Linked DNA regions of Homo sapiens: regions 1, 2 and 3 are each linked to region 4. Evidence: promoter capture Hi-C in 16 types of primary human blood cells and fetal thymus (Javierre and others, 2016). All regions are on one chromosome and are shown on one strand. Each heading gives the region's core, a stretch centred on a gene start or on the middle of the fragment in contact. The rest is flanking DNA. Distances are from core to core; before and after follow the strand shown. Region 1 overlaps TMEM51-AS1 (TMEM51 antisense RNA 1). Region 2 holds the start of AGMAT (agmatinase (putative)). Region 3 overlaps CASP9 (caspase 9). Region 4 holds the start of FHAD1-AS1 (FHAD1 antisense RNA 1).

Region 1 (5,636 bases), core at 1,219-3,718, 220 kb before region 4:
TATTTATTTTTATTTATTTATTTTCTTGAGACAGAGTCTTGTTCTGGCGCCCAGGCTGGAGTGCAGTGGTGCAATCTCGGCTCACTGCAACCTCCGCCTCCCAGGTTCAAGCAATTCTCCAGTCTCAGCCTTCCAAGTAGCTGTGACTACAAACACGCGACACCACGCCCGGCTAGTTTTTGTATTTTTAGTAGAGACGGGGTTTCACCATATTGATCAGGCTCGTCTTGAACTCCTGACCTCAGGTGATCTACCCACCTCAGCCTCCCAAAGTGCTGGGATTACAGGCCATCATTTTTTAAAAATAGACAATAGGAAACAACCAGGACATTTTGGAAACTTGCCCACGTCCAAATTGGGCAAGTGATTCAGGCCCGGCCACTAATACAGCACATTAGCGGCGGTGCCTGGCAGCAGCTGGGTGTGCCAGCCTTCCTCCCCTTCTAACCAAGGTTGGAGCTGAAAGACCTGGTGGGGCTGACTGTCTGTCACCCAGGCTCTGCCACATACACCAGGCTGTGTGACGTGGGGCCAACTCCTTACCCTGTCTGAGCCTCGGTAGAGTCGGAGCGGATGTTCTCTGAGGTCTTTTCCCGGCTCTGAAGTGGTAGGTTGGGTGAGGAATGGAGGTGTGGGCTGGGTGGACAAACCAGGAGGGGTCCCTGTTCTTCCATGTCCCACCTCAAGTCCTAGATAAGGAAGAAAAAGAATGGACACCCTCCTATCACCATGACGCCACATGGCCGTCGACAGCCACCACCACTCCACACACTCACAGGGACCCGCCTGCCTGCGCCCCAGGCGCGGCCCGGGACCTCCCAGTGGGGGTCCGCCTCGAGCCTTGTGGTTTGGATTTCATGGGAAATTCCTGGGTGGGAACCAATCAGGATGGAGAGGGGAAAGCATCTCTGCTGAGACCTCCCGATTGATTGGCTGGCCTCAGGGAACTGCTCCGCCCCCACTCCGTGAAGTTCTTGGAGGTGGGGGTGCTGCTGATCTTAGTGCCCTTAGGATCCTGCTGCCCCCACCTCACCCCCAACCCCGCCTTCAGGGAAGTCTCAGGATCCTGGCTGGACCAATCCAGCCCTGCAGCCCTGGCCCATGATGAAAGGCCCGGGAGTAGACTCCAAACCTGAGAGGTGAAAATCAGAACCCTTTCCGACAGGGCTCAGAATTGCAGGTGGCGGTGAGCTGCCGCTTTTTTTTGGATCTTAAGCTGTACGACGAGTCCCAGAGCTGCAGGCTGCCCCATCCCACCCACAAGGAGATGCCTAGAGAACGGGGCCCAGCCAGAGTCGGATGCCTAGATGCGGGAGGGGGGCAAGGACAACTGATCTATTCTCAGATCCAGTCGTCTCCAAGGCCACGTCCACCCCTGCTTTCTGAGGTTTGGTTGTGATGCACTAAGCACCACCACCCTACCATTCCCATTTCTCTGTGTCTTAGTTTGCTAGGGCTGCCATAATCAAGAGCCACAGGCCACGGTGCTTGCACAACAGACATGGACCCGCCTATGGTCCTGGAGGCTGGAAATCCAACCTCAGGGTGCCAGCAGGGTTGGCTTCTTCTGAGGCCCCTCTCCTTGGCTTGCAAACGGCCATATTCTCCTTGTGGTCCATCCACGGTTGCCTCTCTATGTATGTGTGTGCCCAAATCGCCTCTTCTTATAAGGCAGTAGTCATGTTGGATTAGGGCCCACCCATCTGACCTCATTTGAACTTAATTACCTCTTTAAAGATCTGATCTCCAAATACACCCTTAGGTACTCCACATCTGAATTTTGAGGATATGCAATTCAGCACGTAAGAGTCTCACACACTACCCCCATCACCAGCTAAAGACAACTAGAATTGGATTCCACATGCTTGACTGGAGAAGATTCCCAGGTAAATGACCTACTGTCCACTGGCCTTGACACTGAGGTGACTCCCACCCTTTCTCCCAGCAACTACATACCACACACATGCACACACACAACTCTCGCCTGCATTTTAAGGACTCTATCTGCATTACACAGAACAACTTGGAAGCATGAAAGAATCCTAAATTCTTCTGTTTTTTTAATTGACCCAGTCTTGCTGCTAGAGATGAGTAACAAGTGCCCCCATTTTTCCCGGAAAAAGACAAGGAGTTACTATTATTCTTTATTATTTTCTCTTCTTTTCTCCATTTCTCCCTGTTCTTCACTTCCTACTTAGCTCTTTAGAAATGCAGTTATAGCCTTTTACCTCCTCTTCCCCACACACTCCTTACAGGGCAAGTTCACCTAATCATGTGCTTAGAAGCTCCAAAGCAAAACTCTCACCCACCAGGAGGTTTCCTCGATAGATAACAGTTGATTGATGACCCAAAGTATGCCCATGAAGATGCCAACTCGAGTCCCAGTAAATAAGCCATCAAGGTAGCATGTGAAACCCCCCTGCTCACTTCCACCCCTGTGTAGGCCCCTTTTAAAAACACTCCCCTTCTGCTCCAAAGGCAAGGTGGAACCCTTAAGGCAGGAAGCCTGTACTTCTTTCCCTATGTTAGCTTTGGAATAAAAAGTCACTTTCTTTATACCAGACCTAGCTTGTTAATTAGACTCTGCAAGTGGCGAGGAACTGAATCTGCATTTTGGTTACAATGTCGTCCCCTTGAGCCTGTGAGAGTTGCAGAGTCAGAAGCCAGGCTGCTTTTGTGGGCAAGTTATGGCTCTGTGTCTCCTCACTGCCATGCCACCATCTGGACACCCCAGGACCATCGCCCCTCTTTTGGTTTCTTCACAGGGTTTCCACATGGCTCTTTTCTGGCCAGGTTCCTCTCCAGGACAACTCCGGTTCTAGCTCAGGATAGAGATCAACCCAGCGCCAAGAGGATGGAGCCAACACCACCCTGACAGCACAGAGCCCTGGTACACTTGCTGCAAGATGCTCTTCCAGGAGCCTCTCAGAGATAGATGGGCATGCAACTGGCATCCCCAAACAACTGGAGCAAGTCTTATCAAAGTTGCTTCCATCATTTATTCACTCAACAAACACTTGCTGGGTGTGTGTGCCTTATGCCAGCACTATGTGAAATAGATCTACTGACAAAACAGTCTCTGGCCTGAAATAATGCACACATACATATATATCATGTCAGCAGGTGCTGTGAAGAAAAGAAACACAAAGCAAGAGTGAAAGACTCCAGGAGACACGTGTTAGGTGGGCAGGTTCATTTGGTTTTGTGGTCACTTAACCCAACAAACTCCAGCATCGAGGTCACCAGAGGCTTCAGACTGGCTTGTTAAAAACGGCAACTTTGCCGACACCCTCTTGGTGACACAAGAGTGAAGGCCCTGGGGTGGAGTCCTCACTCACAGGAAAGCCAGTCCATGTCACTGACATCAGTCTCCAAACCCAAGCAGAAAGTTCCTCTATGGCTGGGTTCCCCAAGACCACCCTGACTATTCCAACCACATCCACAACCAGCTCTACTATTATTGGCATAATAGCTGCCTATTTTAAATCGGGCCAGACCTGACATCACTGCCTGTGTCTGTGTAACCACAGGCCTAAGACGCTGGCTCTGTTTTCTAATACATAGATGTGGGTACGGATATGTGTGCCTCTATGTGCCAAGTATGCACATAAATATACAAATAAATATTCCTGCAAATGCTCACCTGCATGTCCCCCAAATCAGGTCACACTCCATGAGGGACATAAGTGCCACAGTTGGGAACCACTGCTTTATGGCACCCAACAGATTCCTCATGCAGCATCGGCCTGCAGTCTCCTGTGGCTGTGAGCTCACTGTACCATGAGTCTGCCTGTGCCCTTCTTAGTTCCAGTTGCTCATGGGGACTTTCTATCACTCTGCCTCCTGGTCCCTCTTCCACGTTGACCCTCTGTTATTTGTTTTGTTTTGGGGAGACAGAGTCTTGCTCTGTCACCCAGGCTGAAGTGCAGTGGCACGATCTTGGCTCACTGCAACCTCTGCCTCCTGGGTTCAAGTGATTCTCATGCCTCAGCCCCCTGAGTAGCTGGGATGACAGGCATGAGCCACCACACCCGGCTAATTTTTGTATTTTTAGTAGAGACAGGGTTTCGCCATGTTGGCCAGACTGGGCTCGAACTCCTGACTTCAGGTGATCTGCCCGCCTCGGCCTCCCAAAGTGCTGGGATTACAGGCGTGAGCCACCGCGCCTGGCCTGTTATTTTTTTTAAGCAGCATAAATGCCTCCCTCCCAAAACATCTCCTTCCCCCAACCCCATTACAGACCCTCAAGCCTTTTCCATGCCCCTTGTCCTTCTTCCATGGTCTCCCCTTCCATCTCTTCCTTCTCTGGACAATCCTCTCATAAATACATCCCTGAATAAGGACACCGTGCTCCCACATAGGCCCAAGCAGTGGAATCGTAATGAAGGGCCCAATTCCCAAGGGTCAGGCCCTGTGCCCTTTACATGAGATCTAATTGAGTCCTTGCTGTAATCCTGGCAGACAGGTACTCTTATCCCCACTTTACAGAGGCAGGAAAAAGTTAAGACACTGGCCCCGGGTCACATAACTAGTAGTATCAAAAGTAGGGATTCGAACCCAGATGTTTTTAACTGCTATCCTCCCTTAACCTGGACTTTATGCTCCTAGTAATACGATCGAATATTGTATCAGCTTTTAAAATAATCTACATCCCACAGTTGCCTCATTTATCTTGTGGGCAGCTGAATGGGTGGTGTTCAAGTCAAGCTGCTCACGAGAGTCACTGGAGTACTCTTGTTAAAAGTTCCGATTTCTAGGTCCTTCTCCAAAGCCAATAATTTAGGGTTTTGAGATAGGGCCTAGGGAATCTACACGCTAAAGTTAAAATGCTTATTTCCAGGCCTCGGGATTTCTGATTCACTAGGTGTGGGGTGAGTCTGGAGCCTACGTAGTTTTTAAACTTCCTTTGGTGATTCTGTGGCATGACCAGGGGCCTGGGACCAACCGCCCTGGTATATATGGCTCCACTATAGGCAGCGCCTGGGCCATTATAGCTCGCAGTCCCAGAACTCGCCACTAGATGGCAGGACAATACGCCCCTCACCAGCCTAGCCCAGCTCAGCTCAAGAAGGACCAAAGCAGCCTAGGCCACTCAGAGATCCAGGCCCAGTAGACAAAGTTTCAGGTGGGCAGGGCCCCCCACCATCCCTGCCAGCTGTCTGCAATCCCAAAAGGTGGCTTTTGGGGGGGAAATGGCTTTTGTTTTCTTTCCTCCACAGGATGCCAGAAACATCAGTGGGGTCGGCAAAATTTGAAAGCTGGCCTCAGGACAAATAAAACCTGTTAAGCCACCCAGATTCCCTTCCAGCCAGGAGGCCCAGATCCTGAGCCCAGCACGCTGTGAGGACGATAGACCACCCAGCAGGAGATGAGTTGAGGAATGGCCTGATGCCAGGCAGGAGGTCTTCCTCTGTGCGTGCAGCTCCAACGTGAAACGGCAGCTTTTTCCCTTCCTCTGAGGGGTGGCAGGCAGGTGGCCTCCTGGAGTAAAACCACAGGACCACAGGACCACGTGGGCAGCCCCAGGGAGTCAGACACACACGTGGGAACCTCGAAGCAAGACCCTGAACATCACTTTGTCCAGCCGCCTGCCTCCTCTTCATGTTCCTACACGATTAATGAGCCTCCCTCCTGGC
Region 2 (5,923 bases), core at 1,402-3,901, 240 kb after region 4:
TGAAGCATCAAGCACGGTATACAGCAACATTGCTAGGGAGAAGTGCAGCTGAGACTTCAAACCATGCCATCGGGAAACCACACTCCTCCCACTATGCCATGCAGGCTAGGCTCTCTAACTTGGCAAAAATGAATTTGGATATTTAGGAAAAGATCCCTGTCATTTTAAGTATTTGTGAACAAGAGAAAAAGTGAGAGTGGGTCAGGGGTGAGGATAAGGGGAAAGCTGCCCTATAGGTTGATGTAGACCCTGAGCAGGACAAAAACACCCTCTTTGCAGTTCTCCTCGCAAATAAAGTCATTAGAAACATCATCTTGGCCAGGCGCGGTGGCTCATGCCTGTAACCCCAGCACTTTGGGAGGCCAAGGTGGGCGGATCACTTGAGGTCAGGAGTTCAAGACCAGCCTGGCCAACATGGCAAAACCCCGACTCTACCAAAAATACAAAAATTAGCCAGGCATGGTGGTGGGCGCCTGTAATCCCAGCTACTTGGGAGGCTGAGGCAGGAGAATTGCTTGAACCCAGGAAGTGGAGGTTGCAATGTGCCGAGATTGCACCACTGCACTCCAGTCTGGGTAACAGAGTGAGACTGTCTCACACACACACATACACACACACGTGAAATATTCTCTCCCCAGGGATTAAAATAAATGAATTACAATGCTCTCTTTCCTACTGTCTGCACATTTGCAGTGGCTTGCAGGGGAGAAGTAGCTGTACTCAAGCCCCTGAGTACAGGATAAGTAAACCCTGAGTGCAGGGAACTACTCTGGCTCTTGCAGACTGACATTACCCAAGGTCAGAGGAATACAGCCAGCTGCTACAATTTTCTCATAGGCCTCTTGAATTCGCCGGCAGCTGTCCTGAAGGTTGTAAAGATTGACATTCACATCGCCTAGGTCTGCAACCATGAGGGACTGGAAGGGGAGGGCCCCCGTGCTAGGATTGACTGTCCCAAGCATCACTGATTCTTCCCGGATGCGGCGAGGTCCGAATCTGCAGAAGGAAGAATCATCCTGTCAGCCATCATCTGCAGAGATTTCAGGCTTTGCTTAGGCCAGGGCTTCTCAGCCTCAGCAATTTGGGGCCAGATGATTCCGTGTCGCGGCATTGCATAATGGAATGCTTAGCAGCATCCCGGCCTGTACTCACTAGGTGCCAGTAGCACCCTTCCTCCAAGGTGTAACAACCCAAAACGCCTCCAGATACTGCCAAATGTCCCCGGAGTGCAAAACCGCCCCACTTGAGAATCACCGATCTAGGCTATGTATCGAAGAGACTAAATAAGTGTACTAAATGGCATTAGTGAATTTCATGATCTACCTGAGTCTCAGTTTCCTAATTTGTAAAATATTTACCTTGCACTGTAGTAAAAATTAAATGAGGTAATCTATGCAAAGCACCTTGCACTTAGGAGACATTTAATAAGTGCTGGCTTTCATAATTCAGATCAGTACGGTCAGATATAGTGTTGCTGAGCTGAATCAGAAATTGCTGACGTTCAATAACTAGGAAGATGAATTTTGCTTCCTCCGACTTGATCCTAGGAAAATTGCCTTCATTTGAGCATTTCTTGAGTCAGGTGACATCTTCAGATTTGGGGAAGGGGCAGCCAGTTTCTGCTCTCAAATGCAATGTCACCTGCCACTGTAAGCTGGGGAGAGGAGAGGGGAGGAATCCACAGCAGCCATCCCAGCAAGGCCCCAGGATGGGGACACAGAGAAGGTTCAGGCTCCAGAATCCCTTCTTTTTTCTTTTTTTGAGACGGAGTCTCACTCTGTTGCCCAGGCTGGAGCGCAGTGGCGCAATCTCAGCTCACTGCAACCTCCGTCTCCCGGGTTCAAGCGATTCTCCTGCCTCAGCCTCCCGAGTAGCTGGGATTACAGGCCCGCGCCACCATGCCCGGCTTTTTTTTTCTTTTTTTTGTACCTTTGTAGAGACAGAGTTTCACCATGTTGGTCAGGATGGTCTCGAACTCCTGACCTCGTGATCCGCCCGCCTCAGCCTCCCAAAGTGCTGGGATTACAGGCATGAGCCACCGGGCCGGCCAAAATCCCTTCTTGACCAATGATGACACTAAGATGTGGGAGGCCACGCCCATGTTGAGCCCTGGGGTTTGCTTATTGAGGGTCCAGGTAAATCAACCATCTCAAACCATAAGGGGCATTTTGGAGCCGGCCACCAGCTTCCAACTCGACCCGGGGCCAGCAGGGGCGCCTGTCTCGGTGCTTTCCATGCCCGACAGCCAGCAAGCAGTCCCTCCACGTGTACCCGGCCCCCGTCCTTCCGGCCTTACCTCGCCCCAGGCCGGTTGGAGGTCCCAGTATCCAGGGGCACCCCGATGAAGGCAGCGTCCAGCCCCTCGGGGGAGGTCTGCACCGGCAGGCGCATCATGGAGCAGACGCCCACCGGCCGGGCCACGAACTCGGGGCTGGGGGGCTGGTTCCGGGGCGCGTCGGAAGCCTGGCGGCTCTGGCGGCGCCCCGGATGAAAGAGCCCTGCGGCAGGACGCGCGCCCACGCCGGGCCCCGGGCCCCGGGCGCACCCGGACGCCAGCAGCCTCAGCATTGCCGCGCGCGGCCAAGACCTCACCGACCAAACCGCCCGCGAGGCCGCCGCGATCTGGCTGGTCCCGAACGGCGAGGCGAGTGTGCACGCGCCAGAGCCGGAACCCGAGCCGGCTCAAAGGTCAGGGGCGCCCTAGGATCAAGGCGGGGGAGGGGCCCCAGGACCTGCCGTGCTCTCCCCTCAACCCCTCTGGACTTCAGCCTCTGGCAAATAGAGTCAGGCTGGGGGTGCCCACTGGCCGGCACTGTGCCAGGGGTGTCTGCGCCCTGCTCCCCACTGTGGCCTTCAGCAGCCTCTTCTCCCATTCAGAGTAATTGTTTGTTTTTATAGAGACGGTCTCACTGTGTTGCCCAGACTGGTCTCCAACTTCTGGACTCAAGTGATTCTCCCACCTTGGCCTCCCAAAGTGCTGGGATTACAGGTGTGAGCCACAGCAGCCACCCCAGAGTAATATTTTTAAAGCCAGAAAGATATGAAGGAAAATGATCTTTCTCTAAGCCAGAAAAATAGGAAATGCATTTTTTTAAATAATGTATTTTTAAATGTCCAGGGATAGGAATCTCAAGAAGCAGTAAAGTTAGTTAGCTACTTAGCTAGCTAGCTAGTTATTTTGAGACAGGGTCTTGCTGTGTTGCTCAGGCTGGAGTGCAGTGGCACAATCATAGCTCACTGCAGCCTCAAACTGCTGGGCTCAAGCAATCGTCTCACCTCAGCCTCCCGAGTAGTTGGGACTACAAGCGTGAGCCATCGCGCCTGGCCAGTAAAGTCTTTTTAAATAACCTTGTTAAAAAAGGACTAGAGGCCAGGGGCGGTGGCTCACGCCTGTAATCCCAGCACTTTGGGAGGCTGAGGCGGGCGGATCACGAGGTCAGGAGATCGAGACCATCCTGGCTAACACGGTGAAACCCCATCTCTACTAAAAGTACAAAAATTTAGCCGGGCATGGTGGCAGGTGCCTGTAGTCCCAGCTACTTGGGAGGCTGAGGCAGGAGAATGGCATGAACCCGGGAGGCGGAGCTTGCAGTGAGCTGAGATCAGGCCACTGCACTCCAGCCTGGGCAACAGAGCAAGACTCCGTCTCAAAAATAAATAAATAAATAAATAAATAAATAAATAAATAAATAAAGGACTTACAGGCAAGCTGTAAGGAAGGTCACAGTGCCAGAGAACCTGTTACATCCTCTTTATTTCTAAGGGGAAAGAAAAACACACGTGGAAAGAAAGAAGTGATTTGTAATGGAATTATGTGAGCCATTTAGCAGTATTATATATATTATTTTTTCTGATCTCTAAATGTTGAGATTGAATGGAAAAGGCTCACATTTGCATTTACGTTGCAACCTCTACACAAAGGTTGCACATTAGGCCAGGCGCGGTGGCTCACACCTGTAATCCCAGCACTTTGGGAGGCCGAGGTGGGCGGATCATGAGGTCAGGAGATGAGACCATCTTGGCTAACATGGTGAAACCCCATCTCTACTAAAAATACAAAAAATTAGCCAGGCGTGGTGGTGGGCACCTGTAGTACCAGCTACTCGGGAGCCTGAGGCGGGAGAATGACGTGAACCCGGGAGGGTGGAGTTTGCAGTGAGCCAAGATCGCGCCACTGCACTCCAGCCTGGGCAACACAGCAAGACTCTGTCAAAAAAAAAAAAAAAGGTTGCACATTAAACCCCACACCACTCCAGCCTCCACTCTGGAGTGGAGCCTCCACTCTGCAGGTCGGGACAGAGTTTCCTAATGGTCAATTATCAGTGCTTAGTGTTGGCCTTGGGGCAGGTCCCAGCCATTTTCTGGAACAAATGCAACAATCTCTCAGTTATTTTTTCCTTTTTTTCTCCCTTATGCCACTTAAAGGGTCTCAGTTATTCTCTTGACTCCCAAATTCAACTGCTATTTCTTTCATGTTGCTTGTCCTGAATGTATCATGTTCTTACTCCGGGTTTTTCTTTCATTCAGCTCACAAATATTGAGTGTCCGCTATGTGCCAGGCGTTCCAATGAGGTGTCCCCAACATCCACTACTGCTGAGCACCCTCTCTCCTTGAAACGTTCCTCAGGCGGCCTCTTGACTGGGACTCCCCTGGTCTCCTTCCACCTTCGTGGCTCCTTCTCGGCTGGCAATCCCTTTTAATACGGAGGTGATGACTTTCACCCATAGGCAGGTCAACCACAAGCCCAAATCCCAGCCCTGAGCTCCAGGCGACCAATTTCTAACCCTGACCTGGATGCTTGACAGCACCTGGGGTGGGCTGCAAGTTCAGCCAGCGACTTTCCACCTCCCTGTCTCTGATCCTGCTCTACGCCCCCAAATTTAAGAAGTCCTGATGGTTTCCTGCCCCCAAGCCTTCTGCTCATTTCCTCTGCTGTTACTCTGGTCCAGGCCTTCCCACCCCAGCTTTCCAGCTGATCTCACTCTCACTAGTATCACCATACATATGCCTGCCCGGTAATGCTTCCTGGAGCCAATTCTTCCTGTGTTTCCCCTTCTGCAGCTCCACGGGCTTGTTCCTCCAGCCCATGGTCAGCTGCCTCAGCCCCCACTTTCTTGCCTCCTTTCCTTTGTTCATGCTTTTCTGTCTGCCTGCAGTGCTCCACCCCAGCCCTCAGCTCCACATGTCCAATGTTCAGTAGAAGCCCACCCTCAAAAGACCCTGAACTTTTTTTTTTTTTAAGGGAGATAGAAGTCTCGCTCTGTCATGAAGGCTGTGGTGCTGTGGTACAGTCATAGCTCACTGCAGCCTCCACCCCCTGGGCTTGAGCAATCCTTCTGCCTCAGCCTCCCAAGTAGCTAGGACTACAGGTGCACACAACTATGCCCAGCTAATTTTTGTATTTTTTGTAGAAATAGGGTCTCACTGGGTGCGGTGCCTCATGCCCGTAATCCTAGCACTTTGTGAGACCAAGGCAGGCACATGGCTTGAGTCCAGGAGCTTGAGACCAGCCTGGCCAACATGGGGAAATCCTGTCTCTACAAAGAATACAAAAGTTAGCCAAGACTGGTGGTGCACACCTGTGGTCCCAGTGTATCGAATTGGTGGGTTCTTTGTCTCGCTGACTTCAAGAATGAAGCCACAGACCCTCGCGGTGTTACAGTTCTTAAAGATAGTGTGTCCGGAGTTTGTTCCTTCAGATGTTCAGATGTGTCCGAAGTTTCTTCCTTCTGCTAGGTTCGTGGTCTACGCTGACTTCAGGAGTGAAGCTGCAGACCTTTGCAGTGTTACAGCTCTTAAAGGCGGCGCGTCTGGAGTTGTTCGTTCCTTCACGGTGGGTTCGTGGTCTCGCTGGCCTCAGGAGTGAAGCTGCAGACCTTTGCGGTGAGTGCTACAGTTCGTAAAAGTGGCGCGTCCAGAGTT
Region 3 (5,594 bases), core at 2,420-4,919, 150 kb after region 4:
CAGCCTCCCCTCTCCTTTGCAGAGGAAGGCAGCACTCACCCTAAGCAGGAGGGACTGCAGGTCTTCAGAGTGAGCCCACTGCTCAAAGATGTCGTCCAGGGTCTCAACGTACCAGGAGCCACTCTTGGGGTCCCTCCAGGAAACAAAACCTTTGGAGGGAGGAGGGCTGAACACTGCTGGAGAGCCACCCCTCCGCCGGCTCCCCACCACCCCTCTGGCCATGCACGCTGGCTCGGGCGCCCTCCAGACCTTGACTCATACATACATCCAACAGGAGCAGCCTGGCCCCTGAGGCTCTGCCCTAATCATGATCTTATTTCACCCTCATGACCATCCCCTGATTCCGGCTATAATTCCTGTTTTCCCAGCAAGGAAACCAAGGCTTGGAAAAGTCAAGTGACTCATCCAAGACATAAGAAAGGAAGGAAACTGCCAGGCACAGTGGCTCACACCTGTAATCCCAGCATTTTGGAAGGCCGAGGTGGGCAAATCACTTGAGGTCAGGAATTCTTGACCAGCCTGGCCAACATGGTGAAACCCTGTGTCTACTAAAAATACAAAAATTAGCTGGGTGTGGTGATGCATGCCTGTAATCCCAGCTACTTAGGAGGCTAAGGCAGGAGAATTACTTCAACCCGGGAGGTGGAGGTTGCAGTGAGCTGAGATCATGCTACTGAACTCCAGCCTGGGCGACAAAGCAAGACTCCGTCTCAAAAAAAAAAAAAAAAAGGCTGGGCGCGGTGGCTCACGCCTGTAATCCCAGCACTTTGGGAAGCCGAGGCAGGTGGATCACGAGGTCAGGAGATCGAGACCATCGTGGCTAACACGGTGAAACCCCATCTCTACTAAAAATACAAAAAATTAGCCAGGCGTGGTGGCAGGTGCTTGTAGTCCCAGCTACTTGGGAGGCTGAGGCAGGAGAATGGTGTGAACCCGGGATGCAGAGCTTGCAGTGACCCAAGATCGCGCCACTGCACTCCAGCCTGGGCAACAGAGCGAGATTCCATCTCAAAAAAAAAAAAAAAAAAAAAAAAGAAGGAAGGAAACTACCGCTTGCTGCAACTACTACGTGCCCCGCACTGTGCTCAGTGACGTGCCAGCCACCTTGTTTAATTCCCATGGAAACCCCTGAGGCACGATTCCTATTCCCCTGCTAAAGATGCGAAGGCAGAGGCAGGGTCAGGCAGAGGAGAGGCAAGTGAGGCATAGGAACCCAAGGGCGCAGGCCTCCTTGCAGCGCGCATCCTTGCCCGCTCAGCCTGAGCCGAGGCTCAGAGAGAAGTAACTTGCTCAGGGTCACAGAGGGGCAAAAGACAGAACCAGGACTCATACCCTGGTCTTTTCTCTCACCACACAGCTGCCTCTAGGGCAGACGGGAAGACCCACTGGCTGCGAGGACGAGCCCTTCTGATGTGCTCACCTGGGAAAGTAGAGTAGGACACAAAGATGTCACTGGGTGTGGGCAAACTAGATATGGCGTCCAGCTGGTCGAAGGTCCTCAAACCTTCCTGGAACGGGGTGGCATCTGGCTCGGGGTTACTGCCAGGGGACTCGTCTTCAGGGGAAGTGGAGGCCACCTCAAACCCATGGTCTTTCTGCTCTGCAGGAAGCAGAAACAAACACCTCTTGTCATTGAAATACACAGACAAGGATGGTTCAACATATGAAAGTCGGTGCAATATACTACATTAACAGTGTGAAAGGAAAATAAATCTTGGGACCCCAAACTCATTAAGCCAAACGGAAAAGTCAAGCTGGGAACTGGGTCACGCAAACCTGCCTCCCCGTTTTGGTTCCTAAATAAGATGGCTACAAGATGAAAAGCTACACACCTCTCCCATATTTTGCCCACAAGGAAATTCCTGGTGAGCTCCAAGATAGTTGTCTGATAAAATTCACCACGGCAATGTAAATGGATAGCTTATCTTTACAGAGGCATCACCCCTCTGCCCACCTGGCACAAATGCATATCTGATTATTCCCCTGCCCCATTTGTCTTTGTTATCTTACGTAAAAATGCAGGTTCCCTGCATTTTCCCCTGCCCTATGTTACCTTACGTAAAAATGCAAATTCACTGAGCCAGACAAATGCTTGAATGACTATTTCCCCCTACCCTGCTCTTACCTGAAAACTGTGTACTTCTCAATATCCTGCCCTTTCCCCTTTAAATTTGGAACCCTAAAATTCATGTTCAGAGAAAGGCATAGACCTGTCTCCTGGGCGTGCATCCTTAACTTTGGCAAAAGAAACTTCTTAAATTGACTGAGACCTGTCTCAGATTTTTGGGGTTCATAAGAGAATGAAAAAAACCCTACATCATCATCTCAATTGATGCAGAAAAAAGCACATGACAAAATTCAACAAGCTTTCATGATAAAAACAGTCAACAAACTCAGAATAGAAGGAAACTACCTCAACATAGTAAAAGCCATATATGAAAAACCCACAGCAAACATTATACTCAATGGTGAAAGACTGAAACCTTTTTCTATAAGATCAGGAAGAAGGCAAGAATTTCTGCTTTTGCCACTTCTATTCAACACATTACTAGAAGTTAATAGAGCAAGGAGGCAAGAAAAAGAAATAAAAGACATTCAAATTGGAAAGAAGGAGTAAAATTATCTCTACTCACAAATGGTATGATTTTATATGCAGAAAACCCTAAAGATGAAACACTATTAGAACAAATAAAATTAGCATATTAGCAGGATACGAAGCCAACCACAAAAAATACTTCCATTTCTATACACTAACAATGAACAATCAGAAAAAGAAATTACAAAAATGGTTCCATTGACAATAGCATCAAAAATAATAAAATAGTTAGAAATTAACTTAACCAAGATGAAAGACTTGTAAAATGAAAACTACAAAACATTGCTGAAAGAAAGAAGGCTGGATGCCATGGCTCACGCCTGTAATCTCAACACTTTGGGAGGCTGAGGCAGGAGGATCCCTTGAGCCCAGGAGTTCCAGACCAGCAAAACCTCATCTCTACACATAATAAAAAATTTAGCCAGGTGTGGTGGCATGTGCCTGTGGTCCCAGCTACTCGTGAGGCTGAGGTGGGAGAACCACTTGAGTCCAAGCAGTTGAGGCTGCAGTGTGCAGTGATCGCGCCACTGCACTTCAGCCTGGGTGACAAAGCAAGACCCAGTCTCAAAAAAGAAAAAGAGCCGGGCACAGTGGCTCACACCTGTAATCCCAGCACTTTGGGAGGCCAAGGCAGGCAGATCACCTGAGGTCAGGAGTTTGAAACAAGCCTGGCCAACATGGTAAAACCCCGTCTCTATTAAAAAATACAAAAATTACCCAGGCGTGGTGGTGGGCACCTGTAATCCCAGCTACTTGGGAGGCTGAGGCAGGAAAATCACTTGAATCCAGGAGGCGGAGGTTGCAGTGAGTCAAGATCGTGCCATTGCACTCCAGCCTGGGCAACAGAGCAGGACTCCATCTAAAAAAAAAAAAAAAAAAGAAAGAAAGAAAGAAAGAAAAATAAAGAAGACATAGGCCAGGCACAGTGGCTCACGCCTGTAATCCCAGCACTTTGGGAGACCGAGGCTGGTGGATCACTAGGTCAGGAGATTGAGACCATCCTAGCCAACATGGTGAAACCCCGTCTCTACTAAAAATATAAAAATTAGCTGGGCGTGGTGGCGTGTGCCTGTAATCCCAGCTACTCAGGAGGCTGAAGCAGGAGAATTGCTTGAACCAGGGAGTCAGAGGTTGCAGTGAGCCGAGATGGCGCCACAGTCCTCCAGTCTGACAACAGAGCGAGACTCTGTCTCAAGAAAAAAAAAAAAAAGATATAAATAAATGGAAATATATCCTATGTTCATGGATTAGAAAACTTAAAGATCTCAATACTACCCAAAGCAATCCATAGATTAAATGTAATCCCTATCAAAACCCCAATGATGTTTTTTGCAGAAATAGAAAATCTATCCTAAAATTCACACGAGAATCTCAAGGGACCCCAAATAGACAAAACAATCTGGAAAAAGAGCAAAATTGGAGGACTCACACTTCCTGATTTCAAAACTTACTACAAAGCTACAGTAATCAAAACAGTATGGTACTGGCATAAAGACAGACATAGGTCAATGTCATTGAATAGAGCCCAGACATACACCCTCACATGCGTGGTCAAATGAATTTTGAAAAGGGTGGCAGGACCATTCAGTGGGGAGAGGGCAGTGGTTTTTTGTTTTGTTTTGGGGGATTGTTTTTTGTTTTTGTTTTTGTTTTTTGAGAGAGTCTCATTCTGTCACCCAGGCTGGAGTGCAGTGGTGCAATCACAGCTCACTGCAGCCTTGACCTGCCAGGCTCAAGTGATCCCCCACCTCAGCCTCTCAAGTAGCTGGGACTACAGGTGCCACCACACCCAGTTAATTTTTGTATTTTTTGTAGAGACAGGATCTTGCCATGTTGCCCGGGCTGGTCTCAAACTCCTGGGCTCAAGCAATCTGCCTGCCTTGGCCTCCCAAAGTGCTGGGATTACAGGCATTTTTTTTTTTAAGAGACACACTTTTGCTCTGTTGCCCAGATTGAAGTGGCATGATCTTAACTCGCTCCAGCCTCAAACTCCTGAGCTCAAGCAATCACCCCAAAAAAATGGTTAAGATAGTAAATTTTATGTTATATGTATTTTGCCACAATTTTTAAAAAGACATAAAACTTGTCTTTTTTTAGAAATATAGTTGAGGAAACTGTCCACTATATCATAGGCACTCACTCAAACCCTTTACTCAGGCTGTCAAGATCACAGTGTCCCCTTTAAGACAACCAAGGGAAGAAATGTGTCTGGAGTCTCTATTCCTGACTTCTGTCTTGCAAATACCAGATATAGAACTATAGAACACCAGATTCCATGGATCTTGAAAGTGATCTTTTTTTTTTTTTTTTTTTTTTTTTGAGACAGAGTCTCGCTCTGTCATCCAGGCTGGAATGCAGTGGCGCGATGGCTCACTGCAAGCTTCGCCTCCTGGGTTCAAGCGATTCTCCTGTCTCAGCCTCCCAAGTAGCTGGGACTACAGGCGTGTGCCACCACACCTGGCTAATTATTTGTAGAGATGGGGCTTCACTGTGTTAGCCAGGATGGTCTTGATCTCCTGACCTCGTGATCTGCCCGCCTCAGCCTCCCAAAGTGCTGGGATGACAGGCGTGAGCCACCGCCCCTGGCCAATGATCTTATTTCCAATGGCGGCTGGAAAGCGTAAAAAATGCGCAGGCCACCTCTAGCAAGTAGCTATCAGTATTCCATTTTATGTAATTAGGCAACTGAGACTGAGATAAGTTAAGGGGTTTCCCCCCAGACAGAGGCTGACTGGGACTTTGACCTACCTCATTTTTGAGTCTACTATTACCAATGGCTGGGATTTTTCCATGTTTCTTTACATCTGCAAAGTGATTTTATCTCTAAAATCAGTCGTTGTATACCTTAAATTTTTAATTCACTTGTACATTAGAGAACTGTAGAAAGCTGCAGGACATCCTAGGATGTATTTTTGGAATCCAAACTTTTACTTTTCTTCTCTCCTTGTGTTCCCTCTCTATTTTGTCCTAGTGTTATCATTTGTACTTCTTGCACTAT
Region 4 (5,985 bases), core at 151-2,650:
CTTAGGGCGAAGGCTTAGAGGAAGGTTTTCCCAAAGTTTCCTGATAAGAACCATCCAGATGCTTTGCTAAAAATGCAGATCTTGGTCTCCACCCTCCAGACCCATTAAATCAGAACATCTGGAGAGGGCCAGGAAACTGTATTATTTAATGAGCTGATTCTCATCACTGTCCTAGAGTTGGCCCTTTTTTTTCTTAAGATGGGGTCTTGCTCTGTTGCCCAGGCTGGAGTGCAATAGTGTGACCATAGCTCACCACAGCCTCGAACTCCCAGGCTGCAGTGGTCCTCCCACCTCAGCCTCCCAAGTAGCTGGGACCACAGGCATATGGCACTACACCCAGCTAATTATTATTTTTTTTTGTAGAGATGGGATCTTGCAATGTTGCCCAGGCTGGTCTTGAACTCCTGGGCTCAAGTGACCCTCCCACCTCAGTCTCTCAAGTAGCTGGGACCACAGGCACACACCACCACACCCAGCTAATATTTTTATTTTTTGTAGAAATGAGGTCTCTCTCTATGTTGCCCAGGCTGGTCTCAGACTCCTGGCATCAAGTGATCCTCCCACCTCAGCCTCCAAAAGTTCTGGGATTACAGGTATGAGCCACCATACCTGAGGGTTGGCCCTTTTTGATATTCAGGGACCCCTCCCATGAATTTCACTGTCTTTATGACTTTTGTCATTTAGGAGATTAAAAATTACTAATGCCTTGCACCTCTCCCCGCCGACTCTCCACATTCTGATCTTAGTGGGGTGAGGGTGTGGCCCCTGCTGTGGGATTTCTAAGCACTCCCGGGTGGTCGCAAAGTGCAGCCACGGTTGCGAGCCACTGTTGTGGGTGGGTGTGGAGCAGCGTGTGCATGCTGCCCCTCCTCACAGCCCCCTCAAGACAGCAGCCCCCCAGATCCACCGGACCCCAACTCTTCCCAGATATCTCCTCTCTTCCCCGGAAGAGTACTGGACCTGCCCCCTTCTCCATCTTTCCCCAGCTCCTTCTCTACCACACACACCTGCCCTCCAGACCTCTCCCTCTTTCATCTCCATCCTCACATGTGTGTCCAGTTACCCCAAAACATCAGTCTCCTCCTCCTTCTTCTCTTTGCCTCTTTCTCTGCTTTTCTGCATTTGCGAAATAAAAGATTAAAAAAGAAGAGCCATCTGACCAAATCATGTGCAATCCGCATAAAGGTAATATTAATGATAGCTATAAATCAAGATGGGCACATTTTGAAGGGCATTTAGATACGGAAAAAGCCAGCACCGTTCCATAGAGAAGAAAATAAAACCAGAAAGTACCTAGAAATCTTCAAAATCTTCGCAGAACTCTCCACCGACTTCCTTTTTTCTTCTCTGATTACCTTCTCCTTTTAACATCGGCATCCCAAATGCCTTATTTTCTCTTTTTAATTTTGGATGGACTTTTTCCCTTGTCAGGGTTTGGTATTTCAGCCCCACCATGTTAAACACTGCGTTGGGCGCCTGCCTAGTCTTCCTAGACAACCCTGGCGACACTGGCCTGGCAGAGTGTTTTAAGAGCTGGCGTCAGCCCCTCTTTTAAACCTGAAAACCTCGGTGCACCCTACCCTCCTTGCAGAGGGAGGAAGCAACATCAGGTCCCTGCCAGACAGACTGTGACACTCGAAGGTCGCCCTTCCTCTGATACTCGGATTGATGGACTTGACCCTGGGGACTCCTTGGAAAGTTACCTCTTGGACTTCAGTGCCAAGTGTCCTGACTAAATGAGCCTTCCTTAGACCTTCTGACTCCCATCACCTGCCCTTTCCGAAAATACATGTGTCCAGGGTCATTAATCTCATGAATCTTGACTTGTTTGAGGACTTTGTTTCAAAGGGAAAAAAAATTCTATGTTCCTTTATCAATCTAACATTCTTTTCTTATTGCCAGTTGTTGACAACAATCCCTTGGTTTGTGCACACACCAATGGGTTAGATCAGGGATTGGCCAAATTGTCCCATAAAGAGCCAGATAGTAAATATTTTCAGTTTTGCAGGTCATATGCTCTCTGCTCTTCTGCAAAAGCAGCCATAGACAATACACAGCAAGCACAGTGTTCCAATAAAACTTTATTTACAAAAACAGACCAGATTTGGTCTGTAAGCCATAGTTTGCTAACCTCTGGTTTAGAACACAGGCTTCAGAATCAAATGGGTCAGAGTTAGAATCCCTCCTCTTGTGATTTACTAGTAAACTGGGTGGATTCTTGAATGTAAGCCTGTTTCCTCCTCTGCAAGGTGGGAAGCATGGTTATCACTGTGCCAAGCATTTCGTGTTCATCGTCGCATCCACCCCTCACATCAACCCAACACAGGAAGACTATTACTGTCTCCGTTGTACAGGCAGGGAAACTGAGGCTCTGGTAGCTTCACTTCCCCAGTGCCTTACAGCTGGAAAGGATCAACCTGGGGCTCTACCCTGGGTCTCCTGACTCCAGAGCACATGCTCTGAGCTCCTAGGCTCTGCTGCCCACAGCCTCCCCAGGGGAGTGCGGTGAGGAGTGAAGAGGTAGCACATGCAGTGCCTGGCAGCGTCCAAATTCCTGCCATGGTAACCATGTCTGTTAAACAATGGTCATTGGTTTCCAGGCTTTGGAGGAGTACATTACTCAAGAGAGAAACAGAGCGAAAGAGACTTTAGAGGAAGAACGGAAGAGAATGCAAGAACTGGAGAGCCTCCTGGCCCAGCAGAAGAAGGTATGTGGCTCAGGGAGACAGAGTCAGCTCGAGCCCCACTGCAGCTAGGAAGGGTGGATCTGGGGCTCTGGTCTGGGCCCGCCGGCTCTGAGCTCCAGGGCTGTGCTGTCCACAGTCCCCTAGGGAGGTGTAGTCTGGAGGGAAGAGGAAACCTGTGCGGTGCCTGGCAGAGTCCAGTTTCCTCCCATGGTAACCATGTCTATTGAACAATGATCGTTGACTCAGGCTTTGGCGAAAAGCATTACCCAGGAGAAGAACAGAGTGAAGGAAGCATTAGAGGAAGAGCAGACAAGAGTCCAAGAGCTGGAGGAACGCTTGGCCCGCCAGAAGGAGGTACGCTCGGGGAGATAGAGTCGGCTGAGCCCCAGTCGGCTTGAGGGCCATGTGGAAGGAAGTTCAGAGCGGCGATGATGGGGGTGAGATCGTGGTGGAGCCTTCCTCGTGGAGTTTGCGTTTGGGTGGGCTCAGCTACTTTGGGAAGCGTGGGAGACTCAAGGAGGGAACCCTGGAGTTGTAGCCTTGACAACCAGTTGGGAAAAAATTGTAAACAGTGTAAAACACAGTCAGAGAGAGAGAGCGCTTGGGAGACAAGTAGGAATGGTGACATGGGCGTCTTCTGTGTTCCAAAGCACAGAAACGGGAGAATGACAGAGTCATGGGACCTCAGGGCTGCGTGGACCCTCCACCAGCATCCTAAAAGCCTCCAGCCTTCAGCACCACCACTAAGGAATGTTCTCCACCCCAGGACAGTCCGTCCCAGCATGGATGCCTCAGGCCGACAGAAAGTTTTCCCTTTAGGTTGAGTTGTGTCAAACTCTTACGCCCCGGAGGAGTATCAGTCCTCCGCCCTCCCCTGCGCTCCCACAAGATACATCTACTTCCTCTTCCACATGATGACTCAGATGTGTGAAAACAGGGGCGCCCGCACCCTGTGTCTGCTCCTCCCCGGGCCCAAGCGCCCTTGTTCCTCAGGTCCCTCACAGGACTAGAGCCTGGCCCTGGCTGCCTCCTGTGGCCTGTGCTGCTCTCCAGAAGTCACAGACTGGTAGCTCAGCGACTAAAAAGGGCCTGTGGAAGTTATATTTGGCCCCGGAATATTTTACTTTGAATTCATAAAATCTATTTAAAAGTTCAGATTTCCAGCCTCTCCCGAAAAGTCAGAAAATCTAGCCCTTGTTTCTACTTAGCAAAAATGGACTAGAAGCCTTACCGGGTAGCAGCAGTTTGCCAGAGTCCTCACCACTCCCCGTTGCATTAAACACAGCCCACGTCATTTTTGGTATCTGTCCGGGCTTCATAGGCATTGAGTTTGTCACCCATCACCCATTTTCTTCCTAAAGGGAGGTGGCCAGAACCACTGTTCTCCAGCCACGGTAGCCTAGGGGAGGACTCCTCCCTCCCGCATTGAAGATATTCTACTTCTGTTAATGCATCCAAACTAGCTTTTGGGAAAGCTCTGTCACATTTGTGGATTCATGTTTAGCTTGTGGTCACCCTCAGATCCCTGATCCTTTTTCACATCTGCTTTCATGAATTCCTCAATCCTGACACAGCACAGAGGAGTGCGGGCTTTGCAGCCAGATGAGACACAAGTTCAAATCCGAGCTGGGCTACTTCCTGGCTGCAGCAGACCTACCGCTGCCTCCCTTCTCGAAGGGGCGGCTGTGGGCTCAGATCTAGTGTATAATGGAGGGCCTGGCCTGCGGAATGATTGCCGAGTAAACGGCAGCTGTTACTACTGTCTCTGCTGCCACTTGTGCCTCTTCTTCTGTTTGGGCATTTGTTTTTCTTCAACACTGACTCCTTGAGTAAAATCCTTGCCCACCCACTGCTGCAGGAGAAACAAAAAGACCTCTGGGCAAAGCCTGTGCCATTTGATCTGACCCAGGACAGAGAGACGTTTACATGTCGGTTCTCCCTTGGCGTCTCTGGCACAGGTGTGCCCTGCAGCCCTCTCACAGAGCGTCACTGAGGTTTGCCCCCAAGTGATTTCTCCAGGGGTGGGGATGAGGAGGAGGGTCTCCAAAGAGTTACTTGAGTCAAATGCCCCAAGATGTCAACAGCAAAAGCCTGGGGAAGATTCTTGAATTTAGAGACTTTGAGGCCACGGGGCTCAGGAGATAAATTCAAGCTTCATTGCAGAGGATCTGTGGTTGGGTCACCCCGCGTCTGTTAAAATGTCAGCCTACTTCTGACAGAACTTCTCTGTGGCTTCCTATCGGGGGAATTTGAAAGAGCAGCCCCAGCCACAGGCTCCATTCAACTGCCAGTGGCTATTTGATTTTCTTTTTTTCTGTCTCCCAGGCTGGAGTGCAGCGGCATGATCTTGGTTCACTGCAACCTCTGCCTCCCGGGTTCAAACGATTCTCATGCCTCAGCCTCCCAAGTAGCTGGGACTACAGGTGCACCACCATGCCTGGCTAATTTTTTGTATTTCTAGTACAGACGGGGTTTCACCACGTTGGCCAGGCTGCTCTTGAACTCCTGGCCTCAAGTGATCTGCCTGCCTTGGCCTCCCAAAGTGCTGGGATTACAGGCGTGAGCCACCGCTCCCGGCCTGATTTTCTTTTCATTAGATCTTCCGCCACATCATCAGGGTTTTTAAGGTCAACAGAATCACTAGGTCATAATCTGGGTCTTGAGGTCATGTTCAAAGTTAATCCCCATTATCTGTTGTGAACTTGGAAGCACAGCAACTGAGCATGTAGGGCCTGTGTGTGAGCCAGGCAAGGCCTCTCTTACCAATAGTACCTGTCCCGACTGCAGAGAAGCCACCCAGAGGAAGGCCTGGCGAGTGTAGACGCAGAGTCAGACACAGCAGAGCCAACCCTAAGTCCCTAGGAAGTGCCTCAAAGTCTCTTTTACAATTCACAGGAAAATGTCCTACCCTGAAACCCACTTCAAAGGATCCAAATAAACGTGAAATTCTTATGATGTCACTTTTCTTCTGCTTTAAGGCTGGTGTTGGGACAGCAGAGTGTTAGAGTTTTGTCAACTACTTTTCACTGCAAAGTATACAATATCTCAGCCATATTCTGGATTAAACACTTTTTACAGGCTCATCTGGGGCCCTAACCAGTGGTTATAATGGAAACCATGTTCCAAGTTCTAAATGCCTGACAGTGAACCTCGTGTTTGAAAGACAAGCCGTTAGAAAATAGAGGTGGCCCTTCTCATGGTGACTGGAAACAGGCTGGCAGTGTATTTCCTTTGGTGATTTGCATTAAGCTGTTTAGTTGAATAGCTTACCAGCAAGTAACTTCCCAGACAAAACTCC

Evidence for each region. The method cuts DNA at HindIII sites, captures the fragments that hold promoters and counts their contacts. A CHiCAGO score of 5 or more calls a contact.
Region 1: a fragment that was not itself captured here is called in contact with the fragment with the promoter of FHAD1-AS1 in region 4 in 3 of 17 cell types (monocytes, M1 macrophages and megakaryocytes); the score reaches 7.5 in monocytes.
Region 2: the fragment with the promoter of AGMAT here is called in contact with the fragment with the promoter of FHAD1-AS1 in region 4 in 2 of 17 cell types (neutrophils and M1 macrophages); the score reaches 14.2 in neutrophils.
Region 3: a fragment that was not itself captured here is called in contact with the fragment with the promoter of FHAD1-AS1 in region 4 in 2 of 17 cell types (neutrophils and M1 macrophages); the score reaches 6.1 in neutrophils.

Annotation. Positions count from the first base shown.
Region 1 is chr1:15,123,685-15,129,320 of GRCh38, forward strand. It overlaps TMEM51-AS1 (TMEM51 antisense RNA 1), which reads right to left. Exons shown (of 5, transcript NR_027136.1): 2 at 544-689. Among named protein-coding and RNA genes, the nearest start is that of TMEM51-AS1, 26 kb to the right of the region's middle. The HindIII fragment of the contact is 8,431 bases long and covers 1-5,636 here.
Region 2 is chr1:15,582,400-15,588,322 of GRCh38, forward strand. AGMAT (agmatinase (putative)) reads right to left here and starts at 2,652. Exons shown (of 7, transcript NM_024758.5): 1 at 2,297-2,652; 2 at 794-996. The coding sequence starts at 2,568. LOC124903854 (a long non-coding RNA gene) reads right to left here. Exons shown (of 3, transcript XR_007065483.1): 3 at 5,823-5,923. RefSeq lists an enhancer at 2,145-2,194 and a silencer at 2,305-2,634. The HindIII fragment of the contact is 7,120 bases long and covers 1-5,923 here.
Region 3 is chr1:15,493,853-15,499,446 of GRCh38, forward strand. It overlaps CASP9 (caspase 9), which reads right to left. Exons shown (of 9, transcript NM_001229.5): 7 at 1,421-1,600; 8 at 40-149. Among named protein-coding and RNA genes, the nearest start is that of CELA2B, 21 kb to the left of the region's middle. The HindIII fragment of the contact is 2,610 bases long and covers 2,365-4,974 here.
Region 4 is chr1:15,342,483-15,348,467 of GRCh38, forward strand. It overlaps FHAD1-AS1 (FHAD1 antisense RNA 1), which reads right to left and starts at 1,401. Exons shown (of 2, transcript NR_148919.1): 1 at 1,294-1,401. It overlaps FHAD1 (forkhead associated phosphopeptide binding domain 1), which reads left to right. Exons shown (of 34, transcript NM_001391957.1): 17 at 2,601-2,708; 18 at 2,934-3,041. RefSeq lists an enhancer at 3,311-3,510. The HindIII fragment of the contact is 5,872 bases long and covers 1-4,837 here.